Regions from separate parts of the Homo sapiens genome. Here all the other regions are linked to region 1. Evidence: promoter capture Hi-C in 16 types of primary human blood cells and fetal thymus (Javierre and others, 2016). All regions are on one chromosome and are shown on one strand. Each heading gives the region's core, a stretch centred on a gene start or on the middle of the fragment in contact. The rest is flanking DNA. Distances are from core to core; before and after follow the strand shown. Region 1 holds the start of MXI1 (MAX interactor 1, dimerization protein). Region 2 overlaps SHOC2 (SHOC2 leucine rich repeat scaffold protein). Region 3 holds the start of MIR4680 (microRNA 4680). Region 4 overlaps RBM20 (RNA binding motif protein 20).

What was found. Contacts are between HindIII fragments. The CHiCAGO score rates a contact against its expected background, and 5 or more counts as called.
Region 2: a fragment that was not itself captured here is called in contact with the fragment with the promoter of MXI1 in region 1 in 1 of 17 cell types (total B cells); the score reaches 5.3 in total B cells.
Region 3: a fragment that was not itself captured here is called in contact with the fragment with the promoter of MXI1 in region 1 in 1 of 17 cell types (activated CD4 T cells); the score reaches 5.4 in activated CD4 T cells.
Region 4: a contact is called between a fragment that was not itself captured here and the fragment with the promoter of MXI1 in region 1, in 1 of 17 cell types (fetal thymus). The highest score is 5.1, in fetal thymus.

The regions. Positions count from the first base shown.
Region 1 is chr10:110,203,389-110,209,461 of GRCh38, forward strand. MXI1 (MAX interactor 1, dimerization protein) reads left to right here and starts at 4,217. Exons shown (of 6, transcript NM_130439.3): 1 at 4,217-4,694. The coding sequence starts at 4,421. RefSeq lists an enhancer at 2,298-2,798 and a silencer at 4,388-4,467. The HindIII fragment of the contact is 6,685 bases long and covers 2,455-6,073 here.
Region 2 is chr10:110,974,608-110,980,680 of GRCh38, forward strand. The region is part of intron 2 of SHOC2 (SHOC2 leucine rich repeat scaffold protein); the gene reads left to right. Among named protein-coding and RNA genes, the nearest start is that of MIR548E, 11 kb to the right of the region's middle. The HindIII fragment of the contact is 1,198 bases long and covers 3,096-4,293 here.
Region 3 is chr10:110,893,889-110,899,961 of GRCh38, forward strand. PDCD4 (programmed cell death 4) reads left to right here. Exons shown (of 12, transcript NM_014456.5): 9 at 203-310; 10 at 524-634; 11 at 2,060-2,199; 12 at 4,140-6,073. The coding sequence ends at 4,200. BBIP1 (BBSome interacting protein 1) reads right to left here. Exons shown (of 4, transcript NM_001195305.3): 4 at 4,842-6,073. MIR4680 (microRNA 4680) reads left to right here and starts at 4,202; the gene lies at 4,202-4,267. The HindIII fragment of the contact is 756 bases long and covers 3,811-4,566 here.
Region 4 is chr10:110,821,238-110,827,310 of GRCh38, forward strand. RBM20 (RNA binding motif protein 20) reads left to right here. Exons shown (of 14, transcript NM_001134363.3): 11 at 38-698; 12 at 2,243-2,377. Among named protein-coding and RNA genes, the nearest start is that of PDCD4-AS1, 47 kb to the right of the region's middle. The HindIII fragment of the contact is 2,687 bases long and covers 1,825-4,511 here.

The sequences.
Region 1 (6,073 bases), core at 2,967-5,466:
CAACCATCTGGCTCAATGGGTTTCTGGCTTCTCCATGGAGACAGCATTTAGATATTTAAACTTTAATGTGAGTGACTCAGGAATAGTTTTGCAGACAGCATCAAATGCCTCTTCTCACCACTGGAACGAGAAGCCATGAACGGCCGGCACCGAGGCTCTGACCAGGCAGGGAAGGGCATTCATGCCTTTGACTCGTGACCTAAGCCCCAGTATTATGCCATGCATGTGCTAGGTGCCAGGGCCTGGGGATGCTAGGAGGAGCAAGGTGTGCTTCCTGCCCTTGATGAGCTCATAGTCTAATAAGCCCTCTAAGTACTGGGTGTTGGACAGGAGAAGCCCAGGAGTCTGCTGAACCAGGAAGAGGCTGCCAGACTCACAGTTCTGGGAGAAAGGAGGGCAGAGTCCAGGAGAGCTGAGATAATGCCTCCAGGAGCAGGTGACACCCAGTGAACTCCACTGTAGGGCGGAGGCTACTTATCCCCTGCCCATGTCTATACCCACTGGTGAGTGTGTGGGTGGTGGTGGGTGGTATGGGCAGTGGTTAGAGGAGGCCTGGTCAGCACTTTTAGGCCATGGGAGAGGCAGAGTCTCACAGTTCTCCTTGTTCCTACCATTCTGCTTGTGTCTTACAGTTCCTAACCCTCTATTCTTGGGCCTTCTACAGGGCCACTCCTTTCTAACAAATGAAAGCAAGAGTCAGGCCCCCAAGGAGAAGGAGCTGTGAGCCAGTTCCTCATCTCACTGCCAGATGATTCCTTTCCAAAAGGGAAAGGTACCCAGGAAAACTGTGGCTGGGAAAGCTCTGAGAATTAGGACTCAAGTGACAAGGGAGGGGACAGAAGAGCTCTTCATGGTGTTTGCCAAGTCTGAGTACAAAGATCACAGGGCAAAGAGTAAGAAAGAATCTGACTAGGACATTTTGGCAAGGTCCAAGGAGAAACTAGAGGGTGGACGAGTGACGGATTTAGGCAGAAAAGGCTGGTGAGTGGGGAATAGATGAGGCAGGAAGAGCAAGGCTAAGGAACCCAAGAGAGCCAAAATGGTCCATGACAGAGGGAAGAGCATCCCATCCCAATGCAAGGTGGGTAGGTTTCGATGGCAACGCATCCATCGCCTTCTCAGTAATTAACCAGCCTCTGTGTACATAAAGACATAATTATAGGCCAAACAACTCCTTTGATGTAAGAGTATAGAACGTCTGGGGGGAAAGGGGCAAATAAAAGAAAGAACAATCTTGCTTTAATATACAAACAAGGTCCATGGAAAGGTATTGCCAAACAAGCAAATAAGCCAAACAAACAAATGAACAGAGTGTTGGGAAAGCAGGACCCAGGCCGACTGGGCACCCAAGATATCCCGGGCCCTCTGAGAGCATTCTAGCTGACTTCATTGGGCATTTCTGCTTTTCTTTCAAAGAGTTCACATGTGTTCTCATCAGAATGGCTGTATTCACATCCCCTACCTGTTCTATGCAGAAATTCTCAGCATTTCCAAAGGGGCCTGTTTACTTCTGGAATCAAAACCCCAAAGAAAGGGGGGGTTGCAAAGGGTTTGAATGGCTCCTCCTGGGAAGCAAATCTAATCGGGAATGGAGCTGAGCTTGTAACCCAGCATCCTGGATGCCTGTCCTGTGATATAACCCCTGAAACACCACTCTTTCTGTTGGGGCCAACTTTATTAGAGAAATCTGTTAATTGGGGAACGGAGCGGGAGAAGGGAGAGAGCAATGGGATGTTAATATGATTTAACACTTGATGGGCTCTGAAAACAAATAAGGAGGGGGCTTCGGGCTTTAGCTTGGCACATTCGTCGTTCCACATACGTGTTACCAAAATGAATATATGCAACTAAACTATATGCGAGACTCTGGGGGCACAGTAACACAGACTTTGTGAAACAAAAAGGCATTTCTCCTGCTTCCACTGTGTCTCTTGTGGTGCCATTGTCTGATGCTAAGAACTCACATAATAACAAAAAACAATGCCCCTATGATGGGGGGAAAACTTGATTTGGCACCAGCCGTGGTGTTTTCCATGGGAATGATGGTGGGGGCTGTGGCCGACTGTGGGAATAGTGCAAATCAGCACTTTTTTGTAGATTTTCTTCAAGCCATTGTTTATTTTGGCTTTGGTCAGATCCGTGGCCCAGCTTGAAGATTCCCACTGGGCTTTCTGAAACTCGCAGACCTATGAGAGATGGAACAGGGATAAATAAATAATTACAAAACACCCTTCCCCCACCATGGCACTCATGCATGCGTGTGCCTGTCTTGGTGGTGCATGTATGTTGCAGTACTATACATCTGACCCATGCCACCAATGGGCAATTAAAGAGAAAGCAAGGTTTTCTCTGGGCTTAGCTGGTTCATTGTCTCAGTACCATCTTTCATTTGGGGCAAGAGAGATCAGAGCTGTTTCACACAAGGGCCAGTTTTTGCAAAATGGCATTGGAGAAAGCTTGTTTGAAACTGTGCATACATGAGGTCTTCCTAACATTTTTAGATGTTTACAGGCATTTCAACACGAATAACTCAGGTTGTGGTTCTCACAGAAGCAAAAAATCAGTAATTGTTCTAATAATGGAAGATAAACTTTTTTTTTTTTTTTTTTTGAGACGGAGTCTGGCTCTGTCGCCCAGGCTGGAGTGCAGTGGCGCTATCTCGGCTCACTACAAGCTCCGCCTCCCGGGTTCACGCCATTCTCCTGCCTCAGCCTCCGGAGTAGCTGGGATTACAGGCATGCGCCACCACGCCCGGCTAATTTTGTATTTTTGGTAGAGACAGCGTTTCTCTATGTTGGTCAGGCTGGTCGCGAACTCCCAACCTCAGGTGATCTGCCCGCTTTGGCCTCCCAAAGTGCTGGGATTACAGGCGTGAGCCACTGCGTCCGGCCATCAAGAGTTTTTATGACAATGTGTATGAAGCTGCCTTTGAGTAGGGTGGCTGCATCGCACACCTCCAGGGGGCAGCATTGTCTTTGTCCTCTATATAAATGGTTCCCCTGGAGGAAAACTCCAGGTGACCTTGCAAAGTAACCATATTTAGATGGGCTTGTCATAGAGATATTTTCCAAGGAAGTGCAGAAGAGTCTTGTTCACTACATCTTGTTCCTTTCTTAGATACAAGTTACATCAGAATAGGGGACTCAGGCTCTTGCCTGGGTCTGGATTGGAAGAAAAAGAGCTTACCATGGGCCAGAGTGTGCTAAGTCAGATACAATACACAAGCATCTTATCACACATTTCAATGATGTGGAAACTTAGGCCAAGAGAGGTTAAGGGACTTGTCCAAGCTCACACAGTCTGTATGCAGCAGAGCTGGGATTTGAACCCTTTCCTATGGCACCCTAGAGCAGCCTTCAATCATCCCCTGACACCTCCAGTACTTCCCAGGGCTGGAAAGCATCCATGATTGCGGACAGCAGTGGCAGTGAAACAATGTCAGCTGGGGTAGGGGTTTTCAGAGGCAAAAGGTGGAATTCAGCTGGGGAGGGGGGTGGTTCCTGAGCTGCCACTTCTGCCTCTCAAATTAAAGGGAGCCAGGTGTGGAGGCATCCTGGTGTGAGCTTTGCACAGCTGAACCAAGGCTGGGCAGAGGAGTGTGGAGAGGGATGCTGACATCTCCTCCCACTTCTGGAAAATAACTTTGCATTTGAAGGGAGAAAGGCATGAGTAAATCTGTAACTCGGATTTGGACGGCCTGGGATTTCATTTGACTGTGTGAAGGCACACACAGGTGCCTCGCAAGTGTGTGCGTGATTACGTATGTATGTGTGTCTGTGAGTAGGAGTGTTTGTGTTGGGGGTGGGGGGATCTTCTGGTTACACACTGGTTCCCTTCTTCCCATTTGGATTGGGGAGCTTTTATTTATTTATTTTTAAGTCATAGCAGCCACCATGTATGGGGACCTAACTATGTGCCAGGCATTGTGCTGGACACTTTCTGAGGCATTATTTTTCTGTGAAAAAAGTAGTTTGTTTTTATGCAGGTGCACCCAGAGACATCAGGTATTTTTTTCCATTCCGGTTAAAAGACAGTGTTCTACTCTGTGGTAAGCCTTGGGGAGAGGCAGGGAAGCCTGCGGGGACGGGCAGGGGCGGTCCCTGCCTCGCTCGCTAGTCTCCACCTTTTATTTTGACCGGTCCGATGGCGACAGGCTCGCACTAGGACCCAGGCGCCAGAGTGCCTCCGTCTGTCCTGTAGGTTCATTCAATCTCCCATACACACAGACTCACAGCGAGACCGACACACACTCCCATACACTCACACACACAACTGCAGGCAGCGAGGCTCGGGAAGTCAGGCCGGCTTTTCGCCCCGGCGCCTTCTCTGCTCCAGCCGGCCGGGTCTCCCTGGGGGCCCGGAGCTCGGCCGGGCCGCGCAGCCCCGTTAGAGGACGAGCTCGGCGGACCCCCGCTCCTCCATGGGCAAACGCGGGCGGCCGCGCAAGGAGGCGCGCTGCGAGGGCGCGGGGCTGGCCCCCGCCGCGCCCCCGGCTGTGCCCCCCGCCGTGGCCGCGCCCCAGCCCCCGGCCCTGCCCGAGGACCCCGCTGGGGCCAAGCCCAGGTGCCCCTTCTCAGACATTTTCAACACCAGCGAGAACTCGATGGAGAAGCACATCAACACTTTTCTGCAGAACGTGCAGATTCTGCTCGAGGCCGCCAGCTACCTGGAGCAGATCGAGAAAGAAAACAAAAGTAAGTTTGGGGGCCCCTGCTCTTCCTCGGCGCCCGGTTCTTTCTTTCTCGCCCACTTGGGCGACCCCTGTTGCGAGCTCGGCCCGTCCCCCCCCCGCCCAACATACACATCCAGCCCTTGGCAGTAAAGCCGATGACACCGGAGAAAGGACACGCACGCACAAAGCTGCTAAAGATGTAACAAAGACGGGCGAGGGGGAGAGGGGCCTGTCGGTGCGTCGGTCTGTCCTCTCCGGCGGGCTGGGGCTGGGAGGATGGCCCAGCGGAGGAGCGGGGGAGTGTTGTTGTTTGCTGACAACTGAGCCGAGAGCTCATCTCTTTGAGGTCGCTTTTCTTCCTTTTTTTTTTTTTTTTTTCCGGAGCCTTCTCAGGCAGACAAGTGTTGTTTTTCTGTTGCTCGTTCCTGGGTGGGGTGGGGATTAGAAGCCGAAAGTTGGAAACCATAGGCAGAGCTCAGAGGTTCCAGAAAGAAAACACACAGACACACACTACAACAATAACAACCAAACAGCTCTCCACGGCGTGGGCTCGGCTCTGTCTCTCTCTCTCCCTCCTACTTCGCCTTTTTCCTTCCCTCTAGCAGCAGGACTGGGCTCAGGCCATCACGTCTACGGACACAGTCCCCCTGCACGTCCGTTGCCGTGGGGTGCCACCGCCGCCCCCCCCCCCCCAAAGAAGGAGGCCGGCGGGGCCAAGCAACGCCAGCAGCTCGCCCCGGACACGCCGTCCTGAGCCCGGGAAACTTGGCCGTGGGGACGCGGCTAGAAGGAAACTTTGGGATCTTTGAGAAACAATAGTTGGGGAAGAAGGTGTGGGCTGTTCTGTGCTTTTTCTTTATTTTCCGGGAGACGGCTCTTGAGTGAGCGCACAGGGCAAGCAAGGCAAACGCCTTCCTGGTCGATTTCTACTCCCCCCACCCGCCCACCCCCAGATTCACGTGGATAGTAGTGCGTGGGTGGGGGTGTGCTGGGAACCCCACCCTGGCCTGGCTTCTTTTTTGTATTTATTTGTTTCATTTTTGCCCCTACCAGCCAGGTCACCCAGCTTTCCCCAGGCAGTCGACTCAGCGCCCTAACGGGGGCACGCGTGTGCAGCGTATCCAGCACCGTCCTCAGAATAATAGCTGTGAAAAGGAGGAAGGGAACTAGGCAGACAGACCGACAGATAGGGGGAAACCGGGATGTTTAATGTGTCCGAACAAGTAGGAAGATCAATGAGGCGCGAGTGTGTGTGTGTACGTGTGCGCGTGTGTGTGTGAGAGAGAGAGAAAGAAAGAAGAAAGGTCCCGATTGCAACGTGTCAGATCTTGCAACCTTCCCCCCACCCAACACAACAACCCTCAGACACAAAAACACCATTGCTGACTGATACCCCAGGTC
Region 2 (6,073 bases), core at 2,445-4,944, 770 kb after region 1:
TTTAAATAAAAGTTTCATTTATCTCAACTTTTGGCATATTAGTTACACATCTTTGTGGCGTTTTTTTTAGTGTTTCCTCTAGTGTTTACAATACATTATCAGAACTTGACACATTTTACTTTGAAATAATATTGTATTATTTTGCATATATCCTAAGAACTTCACAACAGAACACCTTTATTTCCCTCCTTCCATTCTTCGTACAATTATTGTCAATACATTTTACTTCTTCACATTATCATAAGTCCCATAATAATACATTGATACTATTTTGCTTTAAGGTTTAAATTATGTTTTTAAACAATTTTTCAAAATTTTTTATTTTGAACAAATTCTAGACATACAGAAAAGTTTCAAAACCATTTTGGAAGATTTCCATATACCCTTCACTCAGCTTCTTGATATTAATTAACATCCTATATAACCATTGTATAGTGATCAGAACCAAGAAATTAACAGTGATACAATACAATAAACTAAACTACAAATTTTAGTTAATTTCATCAGTTTTTCCACTAACGTCCATTTTCTGTTCTAGAATCCCATGTTACTTTTTTTTTTTTTTTGAGATGGAGTCTCGCTCTGTCGCCCAGGCTGGAGTGCAGTGGCGCAGTCTTGGCTCACTGCAAGCTCCGCCTTCTGGGTTCACGCCATTCTCCTGCCTCAGTCTCCCCAGTAGCTGGGACTACAGGTGCCTGTGACCACGCCCGGCTAATTTTTTGTGTTTTTAGTAAAGACGGGGTTTCACCGTGTCTCGATCTCCTGACCTCGTGATCTGCCTGCCTCGGCCTCCCAAAGTGCTGGGATTACAGGCGTGAGCCACTGCGCCCGGCCTATGTTACATTTTTAATAGTCATGTGTCCATAGTATCCTCTGATCTTTGACAGTCTGAAAGCAAAGACTGAAAGGCTTTCCTTTTCTTTCATGGCTTTGATACTTTTGCAGAGTACTCTTCAAATGTTTTATAGCATATCACTCATTTTTCCTTTGTTTAATTTTTTTTTCACGACTAGTTTGAGTTTGGTTTTTTTGTCAAGGATGCCACAGTGGTGATTGTGTTGCCTTTTCCAGTGAATTATATCAATTCATATTGATAAGTCTCATTACTGGTGATTTTGACCTCGACCAGTTGGTTAATGCTTCTCCACAGCTTCTCCACAGCTTCTGCTGTGCTTCTCCACTTTAAAGTTAATATTTTTTTCTTTTTAATTTATCTTGGGAGATGTTTTTAGACTATGCAGATACCTTGTTTTTCCCTAATCTTTTGCTCACTAATTTTAGCACTCGTTGCTGGATCTTCTCTTCTTCTTTTTTTTTTGTGAGATGGAGTTTTGCTCTTGTTGCCAAGGCTGGAGTGCAATGGCGCAGTCTTGGCTCATTGCAACCTCTGCCTCACGGGTTCAAGTGATTCTCCTGCTTCAGCCTCCCAAGTAGCTGGAATTACAGGTGTACACTACCATACCCGGCTAATTTTTGTATTTTTAGTAGAGACGGGGTTTCACCATGTTAGCCAGGCTGGTCTCAAATTCTGTCCTCAGGTGATCCGCCTGCCTCGGCCTCTCAAAGTGTTGGGATTACAGGCGTGAGCTACCACACCCAGCCTCAAATCATTTTCTTTTGCCCAAAGAACGTCCGTTAACATATTGTAGTACAGGTCTGCTCAAAATGAATTCACTCAGCTTTGTTTATTTTAAAATCTTTATTTTGCCTTTTTTTTTTTTTGAGGCAGGATCTCACTCTGTTACCCAGGCTTGAGTGCAGTGGTGTGATTATGGCTCACTGCAGCCTCGACCTCCTGGGCTCTAGTGATCCTTCCTCCTCAGCCTCCCGAGTCGCTGGGACTACAGGTGTGTGCACCACACCCAGCTAGTTTTTGTATCTTTTGTAGAGGCAGGGTCTTACCATATTGCCCAGAGTGGTCTTTAAACTCCTGGGCTCAAGCAATCCATCCACCTCAGCCTCCCAGAATGTTGGGATTAAGGGTATGAGCCACTACACCTTGCTGCCTTCGTTTTTGAAAGCTGTTTTTCCTAATATAGCAATGCTAGTTTGAAAGTTTCCTTTTTTCCCCCCTCAGTATTTTAGAGACACCTCTGCATTTTCTTATAGCTTGCCTAGTTTTTGACAAGAAGTCTGCTGTTATTCTGATCTTGGAGTTTATAAGCCTCTTGGATCTGTGGGTTTATGGTTTTCATCAAAATTAGAAAAATTTTGGCCATTATTTCTTGTAACTTTTCCCTTACTTGGTCATTTTTTTTCTATTATCTGAGTCTCTTATTACATGTATATTAGACTTTACATTTTAAGTCATTGATGCTCTGTTTGTCCATGTGTGTCCATGTATATTTTAGATAATTTTATTGCTATTTTTTTGTTGTTGCTGTATATCATTTCTTCTTCAGTGTCTAAATCTTACTGTTCTATACAATGAAGTTTTCATACCAGGTATTTTATTTCTCACCTCTATACATTCCATTGGGTGTCATTTTTATTCAAGTTTTCTTTACCTTGAACATATGGAGCTCATTGTTTAACAGCTTTTTCACTGTCCTTGTCTTATAGTTTCCTCTTTTATTTTTGTTTTTGTTGCTACAGAATGATTTTTCTCCTGGTTGTGGGTCATATTTTCCTGCTTCTTTGCATGTCTGGTAATTTTTTTTTGAGACAGAGTTTTGCTCTTGTTGCCCAGGCTGGAGTGCAATGGTGTGATCTCGGCCCACCGCAGTCTCTGCCTTCTGGGTTCAAGCGATTCTCCTGCCTCCCGAGTAGCTGAGATTAGAAGCATGCACCACCACACCCGGCTAATTTTGTGTTTTTAGTAGAGATGGGGTTTCTCCATGTTGGTCAGGCTGGTCTCAAACTCCCAACCTCAGGTGATCCGCCCGCCTCAGCCTCCCAAAGTGCTGGGATTACAGGCGTGAGCCACCGTACCCATCCTGCATGTTTAGTAATTTTTAATTGGATGTGAGCTTCATAACATTTTCACATTGTTGAGTCTTGGATTTTGTTGTATTCTTTTAATAGTGCTGGACTTTGTTCTGGCATACAGTTAAATTTTTCTGTAGTCAGTTTAATCCTTTCGTGGCTTGCTTTTAAGCTTTGTTATGGTAGTTTTAGTAGCCTTTTGTCTACATCTAATTTAACCCCACTACTAAGGTAATAAATTTTGATGACTCCCTGATAAACTATATATTATGAGGTCTTTTTGTGGCTGGTAGGAATTCACACTATTCACAACCTTGTGTGACTGCTGGGAATTGTTTGGGTTGCTGCTGCTAGGTCTTTGCCTAGCCTTTGGTAGTCTGTTTGTACCTAATGCAGATAAGAATTTAGGCAAACACTGCATAAGACTTTCTTGCAGATTGCACAAATCTATTTGCTGCTCTCTTCTGTCTCCAGTTCTGCCTCCCAAATTCTAACCATCTTGGCTTTCCTAGACTAAAATCGTTTGCCCTAACTTAGTAATAACTATTGGCCCTTGTTCTATATTCCTTCCCTGCTTTTTCTGTGACCTGGAACCTGCCTCCAGGCAGTAACCTGGGGCAATCATGGGACTTCTGTTGTTTTCCTGTGATACAAGGGAATACAGTCATATATGGCTGTTGTCTGCAGTCTGCAAACCATTTTCTCAAACATTTTGTTCATTTTCTAGTTGCATCATGGTGGTAAATAGAAGACAGTCTAGTAATTCTTGATTGGCTAGTATAAATAGCTAATACTGTAACTCCTGTGGATTCCATTATCCTCTGAAAAGTGTTACATTTTGTTCTGCTAGGCGGTTAAATTGCTGTTGAGTCACCTTGACCGTAGAGACTTAGATTTAGCTCTTGTAAGGGTGATGCTATTTGGTTATAGCCTTAAACCTAGGGTAAATTCCTTAGTTTTGAGATGTGATCTTTACTCTCCTATGTTATAGCCCTTTTGGAATTTTGTTTATTACTCTCCAGCAACTTGACAAGACTGAAAATCCAAACTCTTAAAGACCACAGTTGGCAACTGTTGAAATCTCTGCTCAGCTCCTTTAGCCTTCTAGCTGTGGTTCTCCCCTTGGGCTCCTTGCAGTCTCCTCTCCCACATGTATTTTCGGAGTCAGCAAGAATTTGAGGAGTGTGTATTTGAAGATTTTAGGGCTCTGCTCTTTGTGATTTCCTCCTTTACAGAGTATCCAACCTTGAATTCCAGTCACTCTTATAACCCTGAACTCTGTCCTTTGGCTTCTTAGGCAGTAGGACTCTGGCCTTCGACTTGAGATTTACTTTTCACCTGCAGATTTTTTAGTTACTTCATGGTAAAAGCTTTATAAAAAGGCATTTATGAAAGTAAATCTCATGTGATTGCTGTATTAGTTATCTATTGTTGTGTAACAAATTACTCTAAAAGATAACTCTTATAACAACAATCATTTGTTATCTTATAGTTTCTTTGTTTTGGGTATCAGGCACAACTTAACTGGACCTTCTGATTTAGTGTCTCTCACAAGGTTTTTCAGTTATAGTGTTAGCCAGGGCTTGGGAAGACTCATCTGGGAAAGGATACACATCCCAACTCATGTAGTTTTTGTTAGGACTTAGTTCCTAGCAGGTTGCTGGAGAGAGGGCTTCAATTTCTTGCTGTTGGCTGGAGACTGCTCTTAGTTCCTTTTCACATGGGTCTTTTCAACATGGCAGCTTGCCTTATCAAAGCGTGTAAGCTAAGACATCAATAAAGTGCTAGCAAGGTGGAAGTCAGAATCTTTTGTAACTGAATCACAAATGTGACATCCCATCACCTTTGCCATATTCTGTTGGTAAGAAGCAAGTCACTAAGTTTAGCCCACACTCAAGGGGAGGGGTAATTATATAACGTATACAATTATTCATGAGGCAGGGCCATTGGGGGTTATCTTAGAAGTCTGCCTATTACAGTTCTCTTCTTTTAAGGGTAAATTCCCTCTAGTTTTAACTTTGGTCTCCCTGTATGCCTTTAAGTATTTTATCCACAGTTTTAAATTATCAACACGACTTCACCACCCTTAGCCAGAGCTCAGTGTTTGCAGATGTTAAATCCAGCTTTCTCTTAGGACAAAAATGTTCTACCATGATAACATTTTCTTCATCTTTTTCCCCCATAGTTAGCCACTAAATATTTTACGTAGATGTCTCACTGATATCTTAAATTCTTCATGACCAAACTGTAACTTCAGCTCAACTTTTCTTCCTTGTGGATTCCATTCCTCTCTCATAATTGCATCTTATCTTCTCTATCAACCCAAGCTCAGTATCTTCGGATCAGAGAATTTTGTTGTTGTTCTGATTCTAGTCAAGGTGTAGCCTACTCACTAGACAGGTACTGGGCCACCAACTGTTTGTTACTAGTTTGCCCAAATTAAGAACAGAAATTGAAAGTAAGCATTTAGAATCTTACATAACAATTTGACATTGCTGAGACATCCAAGTGTGTGAGTTTGTGTTTTAAATATTCATCTACAACCAGTTGGGAACAGCAAAAGACAAAGAACCAGGCCTTCACCATCTGTAGTCTGAAAAGCGTTGTTCTACCCCATTCCTGTCACTTTTTTTTTTTTTTTTTTGAGATGGTCTCACTCTGTCGCCTAGGCTGGAGTGCAGTGGCGCAGTCTCTGCTCACTGCAAGCTCCGCCTCCCGGGTTCATGCCATTCTCCTGCCTCAGCCTCCCGAGTAGCTGGGACTACAGGCGCCCACCACCATGCCCGGCTAATTTTTTGTGTTTTTAGTAGAGACGGGGTTTCACCGTGTTAGCCAGGATGGTCTCGATCTCCTGACCTCGTGATCTGCCCACCTCGGCCTCCCAAAGTGTCCTGTCACTTTTTCTTCTCTCTTGATAGTAGGCCTGTTGTTCACTCACTTACTTCCACTGCCATTGAGGTAGTATAGACCTTCACACTATTTCTCGTGGGCTAATTGCAGTAGCTTCAACCTAGGCTCTGTGTTTTTTATTTGTCTTTCTCAAGTCCATCCATTCAAACCTAGAGAAAACAGACTTTTTAGAACAGTACTCTGATTATCATGGTTTGCTTCAAAACTTTAAATTGTGCTTTATTATCTGGTCAAAATG
Region 3 (6,073 bases), core at 2,939-5,438, 690 kb after region 1:
TTATGAACCATTTAAAAATTGGGGATTTATTTTTTAATTATGAAAAATTCTGTTGTAATAGTACCACATCCAATGTATATGTTATTAGCTGTTTGTTACCCACTATTTCATTATATTGGAATGAGGGCAAATAATCCTGTAGGCAAGCACGATATTTTAAAAGTTAGGAATTCTGACACATCTCAACTTTTAAATCTAATAGATTGATATGCTGCTGAAAGAATATTTACTCTCTGGAGACATATCTGAAGCTGAACATTGCCTTAAGGAACTGGAAGTACCTCATTTTCACCATGAGCTTGTATATGAAGTAAGATTACCTTGCCATGTCAAAGATAATTATTAAGTGTTCCTTTTTGTACTGTAGCGACTTATGCTTTTTAAATAATGTACATCCTTTTTTTAATATCAAAGGAGGAAGTGGTTATTAAATTTCTACGATTACAGAAGGCATCTAGGTGCATTTTAGGAGCAGTTTCATATATGAATTAACCAAAAATTCACTCATTGATTCAATTTTTAGGCTATTATAATGGTTTTAGAGTCAACTGGAGAAAGTACATTTAAGATGATTTTGGATTTATTAAAGTCCCTTTGGAAGTCTTCTACCATTACTGTAGACCAAATGAAAAGAGTAAGTATAACATTGTTTTTGAACAACTTGTAGGATTATGTCTTAAATATATGATTGAATACAGATTATGAATTGTCAGTGAAATTTTCTTTAGGTATGTTTAGTGTTAATATGCCTATATGTTTTGTTTTTTCTTAATGGTAATGTTTGAGGTTTGAACCTTTTGCAACCATTTTTTGGAAAGTAACACTGCAGTGTTTTTTTTTTTTTTTTTACCTACTTTAACAAATGTAATTATGTATTCTACCTCAAGGGTTCGGTTTCTAAGATGTGACAATTTCTATTTTATATCTAGAGAGAAACATGAACCTTTAACTTTTAACAAATTATAAAGTACTTTTTTCCTATTAAAAATTTTATGATTATTGTTTTAAATGTTTGTGAGGTTTTTGTTTGCCTTGTATTTTTTTAAAAAGGTAGTAAGTGTAAATAGAGAAGTAGATGGGAAAGGAGTTTGCCCAATGTCTGATGTCTGCTTACAGCTCTTTTAAGAGAACAGTATTTAAAAAAAATTTTTTAGCTATGTAACCAGTTTTACTTATTTTTTTATTTATATTTTTAATTTTAGATATCAGAGGGGTATATGTACAGGTTTGTTAGATGGGTGTTTTGTGTGATGCTGAGGTTTGGGCTTCTAATTAATGATCCTGTCCCTCAGGTAGTAAATATAGTACCTGATAGGTAATTTTTCAACTCTTGTCCTCTTTCCTACCTCCCCACTTTTGAAATTCCCAATGTTTATTGTTCCCATCTTCATGTCTGTGTGTACCCAATGTTTAGCTCTCACTTACAAGTGAGACCATGCATTATTTGGTTTTATGTTTGTGATAATTTTCTTAGGATAATGGCCTCCAGCTGCATCCACGTTGCTGCAAAGGACATGATTTTGTTCTTTTTTATGGCTATGTAGCATTCCATGGGCGTATATGTACCACATTTTCTTTGTCTAATCCACCATTGATGGGCACTTGGATTGATGCCATGTCTTTGCTGTTGTGAATAGTACCCGATAAATATACAAATGCAGGTGTCATTTTGGTAGAATGATTTATTTTCCTTTGGGTATACACCCAGTAATGGGATTGTCGGGTTGAACGGTAATTCTATGTTGAGTTCTTTGAGAAATCTCCGAACCACTTTCTACAGGGGCTGAACTAATTTGCATTCCCACCAACAGCGTATAAACCTTCCCTTTTCTCCTCAACCTTGCCAATGTCTGTTATTTCCTGACTCTAATAAAAGAGAACAGTTGTAAAACACTGTAACAAATCTACTTTCTGTGCTTCTCACGATTCAAATCTGACTTCAGTTTAACCATTTGAATATTTGGCCTTAAATACAAATTGATGACATAGTGATGGATTGTGTTTTATGACATTTATTTTATATGGGCTAACAATTCTGCATGTAATTTCATTGTTGTAGGGTTATGAGAGAATTTACAATGAAATTCCGGACATTAATCTGGATGTCCCACATTCATACTCTGTGCTGGAGCGGTTTGTAGAAGAATGTTTTCAGGCTGGAATAATTTCCAAACAACTCAGAGATCTTTGTCCTTCAAGGTACTTTATTTAAATACTACTTTCTCAATGTAAAATAGTGGATGAGATCTTTGGGAAGGTTAACTGCTAAGTTAGTTTATCGTTCCCTGAAGTCACTGAAGAACGTGACTCTTGTGAGTTCATGGAGAAAGAAGGGCGAAGCTTGTTTTAGCCCCCTTGTAAATCTGTACAGGACTGCCTCATGAAGTCCTAGTTTATTTGAAAGAAACTAATCTTGTGGAGCAGGTCCTTTGTTGTAAGTAGTTTCAGTGTTTAGAGTAGGTATTATCAGTGATAAGATGAGAAAATTGAGGCTTAGGGAGGTATAATGTACTTTTTCTAAGGTCACATGGCTAGTACATGGTAGAAGCCAAGTATGAATTCAGGACTTTTCTGGCTTCAAAGATCTAGGCTCTTACCTGTACTGGATGTGGCTTCCTTGACTTCTTTACAGGTTGGAGAATTAGGGCTAATTGGATGTTCTCACTAGAAAGTGTGTGTGTTGGGGGGTGTGTGGAGGATGTTCTCACTGGAAAGTGTATGTGTGTGGGTGATTTTCCTTGGAGCTATTAATATTTTTGCTACTAGTTGGTAAGTTTTTTTGTTGTTGTTAAAGCTAATAATGAAGCTTATAATGTAATAATATAAATGTTTAGTAATAGCTAAACTTTTTGCTTGTGTGGGTCAGTTTTATATAATCTTAAGTTCTTATAATTTTTTATCTGGAAAATTTCTTAAGCTTTGATATTTTTAAGTGCATTGTAAGAATTAAAAGTCAGAAAAATATTTCCTGGTAGGGGCCTTTGCTTTAGAATTTTAGAAGCCATTAAAAGAGAGGGAAAAGAAAGTGATGAAAGATAGTTTAATAGCTTTACTAGAAATGTTTGGAAATACAGACGTTAGCTTGGTGATGGCAGGATTTATGTATGGATGTGCCAAGTGATATACATCAGTAAAAACTCTGAACTTTGGCCTTCTTATTATTGACTGCTTTTTCATTCCCTACCTTGGTCTCATACAGTCTGAAGCCTTTATGTTCAAGATGATGTAGCTGTTTTCCACTTAGACTTAATATGAAAAGGGGCCAGTACCCTGGCATTGGCTTTTTGAAAGTTTTTCAGCCTCTGTTTGAAAGTCTGATTGTTTCTGTGTGGCTTTATTCTCAAGGGTCACATGAGGCAATAAACTTTCTGTGTATACATACCATACAGCTTTGACTTGGGTCCTTCATCTTTTAGCCTATTTGGGTAAGGTGCACATTTGTGTGTGGTTTTGCATGCTTGTGCCTATTGGCCTGGGGTCAGAGAGTAAGGGCTAATGTTGCCTAAGTTCTATTTCCCACTTACTGCTTTAGGCCACTGGCCAGCTGTTCCTTCTGGGCTATTGCCACTACATGTAGGTAAGAGTGTGGTTACATTATAGAGCAGGGCTTCTTGAGTTTGACAAAGCACGAATCCCAAAATGGGGCATAGGCTGTAATTCTGATTTTTTTCCACATTCAAGTTATGGCTTTTCTACAGTTGATAAAACATTTTTTTTTAAATTGCCAAACATGGATATTTTGATAGGTTGCACAGCTCCAGTTTGCATAATTCTGAATTATGTTAGTGTTTCCTATTTGGCTTACTGTTAAGCTTACAAATAATAATTAGAAATTAATTAGAAATAATTTTAAATTTCTAAATAAAATGTTTTAGTTTGAGTCAACTTTTTTTAATGTGACTCTGTTTGGATAGTGAACTTATTAAAACAAAAACTCAGATTTGATATTGATGTTTTATGCTAAGATATATAGTAGGGAGTCTTTTCCAAAGGAATTAGAGGCATGCTTTTTTTTTTTAATGGAAAACCCTTTAAAAGCTAACACGTAACGAAAAAATACCAAGTTTTTAATTTTTTTATATATTGACTATAGTCAGAATTTGTATCTGTTTTCATGTCTTTTTTTTTCTTCATTACAGGGGCAGAAAGCGTTTTGTAAGCGAAGGAGATGGAGGTCGTCTTAAACCAGAGAGCTACTGAATATAAGAACTCTTGCAGTCTTAGATGTTATAAAAATATATATCTGAATTGTAAGAGTTGTTAGCACAAGTTTTTTTTTTTTTTTTTTTTAAGCACTTGTTTTGGGTACAAGGCATTTCTGACATTTTATAAACCTACATTTAAGGGGAATTTTTAAAGGAAATGTTTTTTCTTTTTTTTTTGTTTTTCGAGGGGGCAAGGAGGGACAGAAAAGTAACCTCTTCTTAAGTGGAATATTCTAATAAGCTACCTTTTGTAAGTGCCATGTTTATTATCTAATCATTCCAAGTTTTGCATTGATGTCTGACTGCCACTCCTTTCTTTCAAGGACAGTGTTTTTTGTAGTAAAATCACTGGTTTATACAAAGCTTTATTTAGGGGGTAAAGTTAAGCTGCTAAAACCCCATGTTGGCTGCTGCTGTTGAGATACTGTGCTTTGGGAGTAAAAAAAGAAAGTTATTTCTTTGTCTTAAAGAATTTTTAAAAAATTAGTCATGAGACTTATTCATCTTTCCAGGGAACATACTGATTGGTCTTAAAAGACTAGACAGTTAAGTAAAAGGTGGCTGGAACATCTATTTTTCTACAAAACTGGAAAAATGAACCTGGTTCTAGAAGAATGTACACCAAAATAAAACATGTGAAGCAGTATTGATTCTTTATTGGGAGTACATTTTTTTAGGTCTCTTAAACTTTAATTTCACACAGTAAATTTTGAATCTCATAAGGAAGCATATTTGAACCTAGTCAATTTAATCTTAGTGTTCCCTTGAAAACTTTTTTTCCCTACAAAATTTTAAGTGAAAAATACAATAGTAAATTAAGATTACACTGGGGAAAAAAATGCAGGTATCACTTTACTCCATTGTTATCTGACCTAGAGCTTAATTAAGTTTTAGAAATATGTAATACCTTCCATCATTCCATCATCCTTAAATTCTGTTACCAAATAATGGCTAATGTTACAAAAAGTTATACTCCAGAGACCCAAAGCTTGACATTTACCTAATGTATGAGAAAATATTACCAATTAACAATAAAGAATGATCATATTTTTAACCTCTTTTACATAGCCTAATAACTCAGCAAGGCCTCAACGTCTGTGCTAATTTAAACTGCCAAATATTGACTGCAGCAAACAAGAATTATATTCAGAATTTATGAGGGTACTGTTAGGAGTATACTGCTTACAGGTTTAGATATAGTCTGTTAGAATTAAAACCAAGTTTAGTGTTCATATTTACCTCATGGGCTTTATCAAGCCCATATTACCTCAGCTTATATATAGTTACCATTTTTAGGTTTTTAATTGTTTGACACTTGGATGATAAATGCAGTCATTTTATTCTCAAGTGCTTAAAATTAATGTAATTAAAAGCTTAGCTGACTACAGAATAGGTGAGGGTTTCTTAAAAATGAGATTTAAGGGCTGGGCACGGTGGCTCATGCCTGTAATCCCAGCACTTTGGGAGGCCGAGGTGGGCGGATCACTTGAGGTTGGGAGTTCATGACCAGCTTGACCAACATGAAGAAACCCTGTCTCTATTAAAAATACAAAAGTAGCCAGGCATGGTGGCGCATGCGTGTAATCCCAGCTACTTGGGAGGCTGAGGCAGGAGAATTGCTTGAACCTGGGAGGCAGAGGTTGCAGTGAGTCGAGATGGTGCCATTGCTCTCGTTTGGGCAACAAGAGTGAAACTCTTGTCTCAAAAAAAAAAAAAAATGAGGTTTAAGACAGTTTTGTCATTACTGGTGGGATCTGGTCACACAAGATAGCATTAAACGTGACATGGCACATAAAATTGGTTAAAAAATTTTGTTTTTTAATTACGTAATGTAAAAGCCCAACAAACACTTTATGCAAGATTGGAAT
Region 4 (6,073 bases), core at 1,918-4,417, 620 kb after region 1:
AACCACCCTCTGACCTCCATTCTGCATTTTTGTACAGGAACAAGATTGGGAGAGTGAAAGTGAGGCAGAGGGGGAGAGCTGGTATCCCACTAACATGGAGGAGCTGGTGACAGTGGACGAGGTTGGGGAAGAAGAAGATTTTATCGTGGAACCAGACATCCCAGAGCTGGAAGAAATTGTGCCCATTGACCAGAAAGACAAAATTTGCCCAGAAACATGTCTGTGTGTGACAACCACCTTAGACTTAGACCTGGCCCAGGATTTCCCCAAGGAAGGAGTCAAGGCCGTAGGGAATGGGGCTGCAGAAATCAGCCTCAAGTCACCCAGAGAACTGCCCTCTGCTTCCACAAGCTGTCCCAGTGACATGGACGTGGAAATGCCTGGCCTAAATCTGGATGCTGAGCGGAAGCCAGCTGAAAGTGAGACAGGCCTCTCCCTGGAGGATTCAGATTGCTACGAGAAGGAGGCAAAGGGAGTGGAGAGCTCAGATGTTCATCCAGCCCCTACAGTCCAGCAAATGTCTTCCCCTAAGCCAGCAGAGGAGAGGGCCCGGCAGCCAAGCCCATTTGTGGATGATTGCAAGACCAGGGGGACCCCCGAAGATGGGGCTTGTGAAGGCAGCCCCCTGGAGGAGAAAGCCAGCCCCCCCATCGAAACTGACCTCCAAAACCAAGCTTGCCAAGAAGTGTTGACCCCGGGTAACTATCTCCCCTTTCCTCACGGGTGGTCGGGTTGATTGGACTCCTGCTCACCTGATAAAGTATGAGCATGTGCAGGCTGGAATGAACATAAGTAAGGTTTCAACTAGCATTAAAGTGGGTGCAGAAAGTGATTTAGCAACAAAGGCAAGCCTCTAAAAGCCTGGCTAAACTGTTAGTGATTTTAGGCAAGTGGTGTAAAGGAAGTTAGATAGGAGGCTGCATGTTTTCTGAGAAGCAAACTCAGGGCAGACTTCTCTGCATTTACAGGAGCCCAGATGGACTTGGATAACTAAAATTAGACTGGGTTATCAGCAAAAGGAGATCAGGAGGAGCCTCGTGCCTGCACAGCAGAGGGCCACCCAGGCTGTTATTTCTGTGATGGGGGCAAGAGTAGGGGATACAAGAAAGGAGTGGAAGGGGAAGGAACAGAGGATCCTTAAAGGGTACAGCTGTTCCCCTTCTTACTACCTCAGACCCATTTTTTGCTAGGGTCTGACAGTGATACAAGACTTGTTTCAGGATATTCTCTCACTCCATTGGAGGTGACGTTTTGTGCCTATGCCCGGCACTGTGACATCATGAAAGAGAGAGTTTAAAATAGGCTAAGCCCCGTCTTCTCTGCCAAGTGGAACTTAAGATCCATCAGGGGGTTTGGGGGGAGGGAGAGAGAGTAGCCTTTAAGATTCTCACTGTGAAAATAATTAGGGATTTGCTTTACAGAAAGCCTGTAGCACACCAGAGGTTGAAGTGAGAGTCAGGGGCAGAAAATACAGAGGAAAGGCTTAAAAATGAACATTTCAACCCAGGGCCCTGTGGGTGGCATGAGCTGTTAGGTAACTGGGAGGCTTGGGATTTTTTCCATGTCAAGCTGACCTGAGCTGTTTTTTACCTGCACGGATCTGAGTTTCCATGGAAACCCCGCCGTGAAATGCCTTCTTGTTGCTAGAGAAACCGTGAGGCCCAGGCTCTGTCTAGAGAAGGCAAGAATAAAGGAGGAGTGAAATCTTCACCTCACTCCAATCAAGCCCCTTTTATTTTGCGGTATAGGTCTCAACATGTGCCAGTGTTAGAGGCTCATTAACTGACCCAGTGTTTGGGGTTCATATTTAATAACAGCTTGACAAGCTTGGGGAGAGAATGGCATTGCCTGTTTTGCTAGCCTCGGTGGACGTCAGCACAATTTTTGCCCGTCAGTAATTCCTCTGCCTGCAGAGATGGAATGATACTGAGATGGGAGGCATGGGGGGTGGGGGGTGGATCTTCTCAACTGAAGGCATCAGCAGCCCATCCCCCTGGGCCAAATGCAAACATTTGCCAAGTTTTATTGTGTGTGGCATTCTTTTGGCAGTGGAAAAAGCTCCTAATGACAGTGCTTTGGTTCTAATTAGCAACCATTGCCCCAGCCTTATGTGATTAAGCAGTCCAAGGAACAATTCCCAATCATACTATGCAGGCATAGAATTTCAGGGACTCTTTGAGGCATGTTGTATTTCTTTTTTTTTTTTTTTTTTTTTTTTTTTGCCTTGGTTCATGTTTTGCAGAAAACTCCAGGTACGTGGAAATGAAATCTCTGGAGGTGAGGTCACCAGAGTACACTGAAGTGGAACTGAAACAGCCCCTTTCTTTGCCCTCTTGGGAACCAGAGGATGTGTTCAGTGAACTTAGCATTCCTCTAGGTAAGCAAAACACACAGTCTTTCCTGAAATTCAGGTCTAGGAAATAACAGTTCCATAGCAACCTCAAGAGCTTGAGAGAGCTTTTTGGCATTTTGTTGTTGACATCGTTTTTTGTTCTTTTGAGACAAGGTCTCACTCTGTCACCCAGGCTGCAGTGCAGTGGCATGATCTCAGCTCACTGCAGCCTCAAATTCCTGGGCTCAAGTGATCCTCCCACCTCAGCCTCCTGAGAAACTTGGACAACAGGTACACACCACCAGGCCCGGCTAATTTTTTTAATTTTTTTTTTTTTTGCAGAGATGGGGTCTCCATATGTGGCCCAGGCTGGTCTTCACCTCCTGGGCTTAAGTGATCCTCCTGCCTCAGCTTCCCAAAGTGCTGGGACTACAGGTGTGAGCCACTTCACCTGGCCGGCCTATCGTTATTTTAAGTGTATGATGCAATAACCTAGATTTGCAAGGGGCGGCTGTAAACTTTCTTGCAATTTCAGTCTCCCGTAATAGACCAGATACTCCGTGAAAACAGCCTTGAATAACAGTGCCCTGGGACCCAGAACTAAGAAGTCCTGTTTTTCCTGTCAGGGAATGCTTTATTCTTGATGACATGGAGTCTTTAAGCCTAGCCTTTATTCAGGCAGGAAAGCAGATGCCCAGCAGCCTCCATAAAGTCAACAAAAATGAACTTCGTCTGCTATTGTTCATTGCTCCAGTCCTTCCCAGAACAATGCTACATATTTTTTTCTCTTTAAAGGACCAACTTTTCTGAGGCAATGATGCTGAATAGAATGTGTTTGGGGCAGACTACCCCTAGTTCATAGAAAGGGTATTGAACAGGGAGACCTGGGTTTCTGTTCTTCCTACTTATGGGTGACTGTGTGCCCTCAGGTAAGTCATACCCCTTCTTGAGCCTTAGTTTCCTCTCTGTAATTTAGACAGCGATTTTTTCAATGGTGGAAGTGTTGGGAATGAAGTGGGGAGGGAGTTTACTGATGGAATCACCTAGGAATGAATCCCTTTTCAAAGAGAAGAGTTAAGCAGAGTCTCAGGGTAGGGAGTGAAGGCACTTTAAGAAAGTTCCCTGGGAGATTCTGACACAACCACTAACCCAGCAACTCCAGCCTACATCATCTTTGAGTCCCCTCGCATTAGCTCTGAAAGGTCGGAATTAGATAAAGTAGTAGTAGCAGCTGCTCAGAAGGAGAGCTCAGGAAAGTGTCACCTGGGAAAGTGTCACAAGGAAGCATAAAAAGCACGGGTCATCTGATGCCTGATGACCACGTGTCTGATCATGCAGGGAGGGGCTGGTCAGTGTGGAGGCTCGTCCTTTCCATCCAACTTGCTCTTTTTTTCCCTTCTCCTTTAAAAAAATCTCTTACTATTTCTTTCCTCCAGGTGTACCATTTTTATAGTCAGATCTGGAGAGCAAACTTCCTTTTTTTTTTAAGGGATAAATTTGCTGCACAGCATCTCCCAAGACAAAAACATAAGAAAGAAGGAAAAAGAAATACTAACTTTAGAATAAACTGAGATGACCCTGGGTATTTTAGCTCTAGAAAACAGTTGCAAAGGCCACCCTGCAGGAGAAGAGAGGGCTCCTTCATGCATTCAGTCAGTCAGCAAATACTTACTGGATAACATGGTACTGTGCTAGACACTCTGGGGTAACCAAGAAATATAACGCAAGTCTCTTGTCATCCAAGAACTTGGAACCTAATTGATACTAGCAAAAATTAAGAATAAATTCTGCTACCTTGTAATTTGTGTTTTACTACTGTTTTTCATTATAGAAAGTGTGAAAGATTATTGTAACAAATTCAAAAAATAAGAACCATATCAAGTCAATATTAAAGGTCTGATTGATCTCTTCCCTCCAGTCTCTCCCCAGTCTCCAGAGGTAGCCTACCACTGTCATGCCCAGTTTTTCTCTCACAAAAATGGGATCACACTACACACATAATGTTCTGCAAGTTCACTTAGTAGCAGGTCTTAGACATTTCTTCATGTCAGTACATAGAGAACACATTCTTTTTAACCACTGCAAATATTCCATCGTAAAAGCTATGCTATAAATGACTGATCTTTCCTCTGCTGGTGAACAGTTAGGCTGTCTGCTCTTTTTCCCATTTTAATAGCTAAGCTTTTATTGTTAACATTCCCCATGCAGGCACCATCCCTAGGGATCTGTATGTATTATCACATTTAACCCTCTCAAAACACCTATGAGGTAGGTGCTGTTTTTATCCTTATTTAACAGATAAAAAATCTGAAATGCAGAGTCACACAGCTAATAACTGGCAAAAACCAGAGTCAGGTTCAAATCCCAGTCATCTGACTCTAGAGCCATGTTCTTAGCTTCTGTTCTCTGCTGCCTTTCAGATGTGCTTGTTCAGTGGTATGTGTATGCCAGTGTTCCTGTGGGAGAGCGTCCTAGCCAGGGGGTTGTAGGGTGGTATGTATTTGCATTTTAAATTTTCATAATTGCTACTAAATTGCACTCCAAAAAGATGGTATCAGTTTTCCCTGCGACCTTGAGTGAGAGTTCCCAATATCCACCTCCCATTGGATTTTATCAGTTTTTAATCTTTCCTAACCAGTTAGGAAGAAAATAGTATCTCACCTTTTTAAAATTGGCTCTATTGAGTTATAATGGATATAAAGTAAGTGCATATCAAGTGCATAGTTTGATCAGTTTTGACCTATAAATATACCTGTGAGACCATCACCACAATCAAGACTGGGAACAATGTTCATCATATCCCAAATTTCCTGTCTCCTATGTAACCCCTCCCTCCCCACAGTGCAACCCCCAGGTAAAGGATCTCCTTTCTGTCACTAAATATTAGTTTGCATTTTCTAGAGTTTTATATAAAGGGAATCATATTGTATGTGCTAGTTTGGCTTCTTTTGCTCAACATCATTGAGATTCATCTGTACTGTTGGGTGGATCAGTAGTCTGTTTCATTCTTCTTCTTTTTTTTTTTTTTTTGAGACAAAGTTTTTCTCTCGTTACCCAGGCGGGAGTACAGTGGCATGATCTTGGCTCACTGCAACCTCCACCTCCTGGGTTCAAGTGATTCTCCTGCCTCAGCCTCCGGAGTAGCTGGGATTACAGGCACCTGCCACCACGCCTGGCTAGTTTTTGGTCTTTTTTTAGTAGAGATAAGGTTCCACCATGTTGGCCTTGAACTGTTGGGGTCTTGAACTCCTGACCTCAGGTGATCCACCTGCCTCAGCCTCCCAAAGTGCTAGGATTACAGGTGTGAGCCACCGTGCCCGGCCAGTCTGTTTCTTTTTATTGTTGAGGAGTATTGCGTTGCATATATGGATACATCACATTCTGTTTATTTATTCATCTGTTGACAAATATTTGGGTTGTTTTCAGTTCGGGGCCTTTACAGATTGTATTTGTTAATAGTCTTCAGTTAGCTTTGAGATTCATTATCTCATTGGTCCCCGAAGGAAGAGTATGGTATGAGGTTCTGCATTTGACAGGTGAGGAAACTGAAGTCCAGAGACTTACCCAGGATGACATAGCAAACGCAGGTTAGAACTCAGGATTTCTCAGCCTGGGCAACATAGGGAGACCCTGTCTCTGCAAAAAAATAAAATAAAATAAAACTAGCCAGGAGTTGTGGTGTAAATCTGCAGTCCCAGCTACTTGGGAGGCTGAGGGAGGAGGATTGCTTGAACCTGGGAG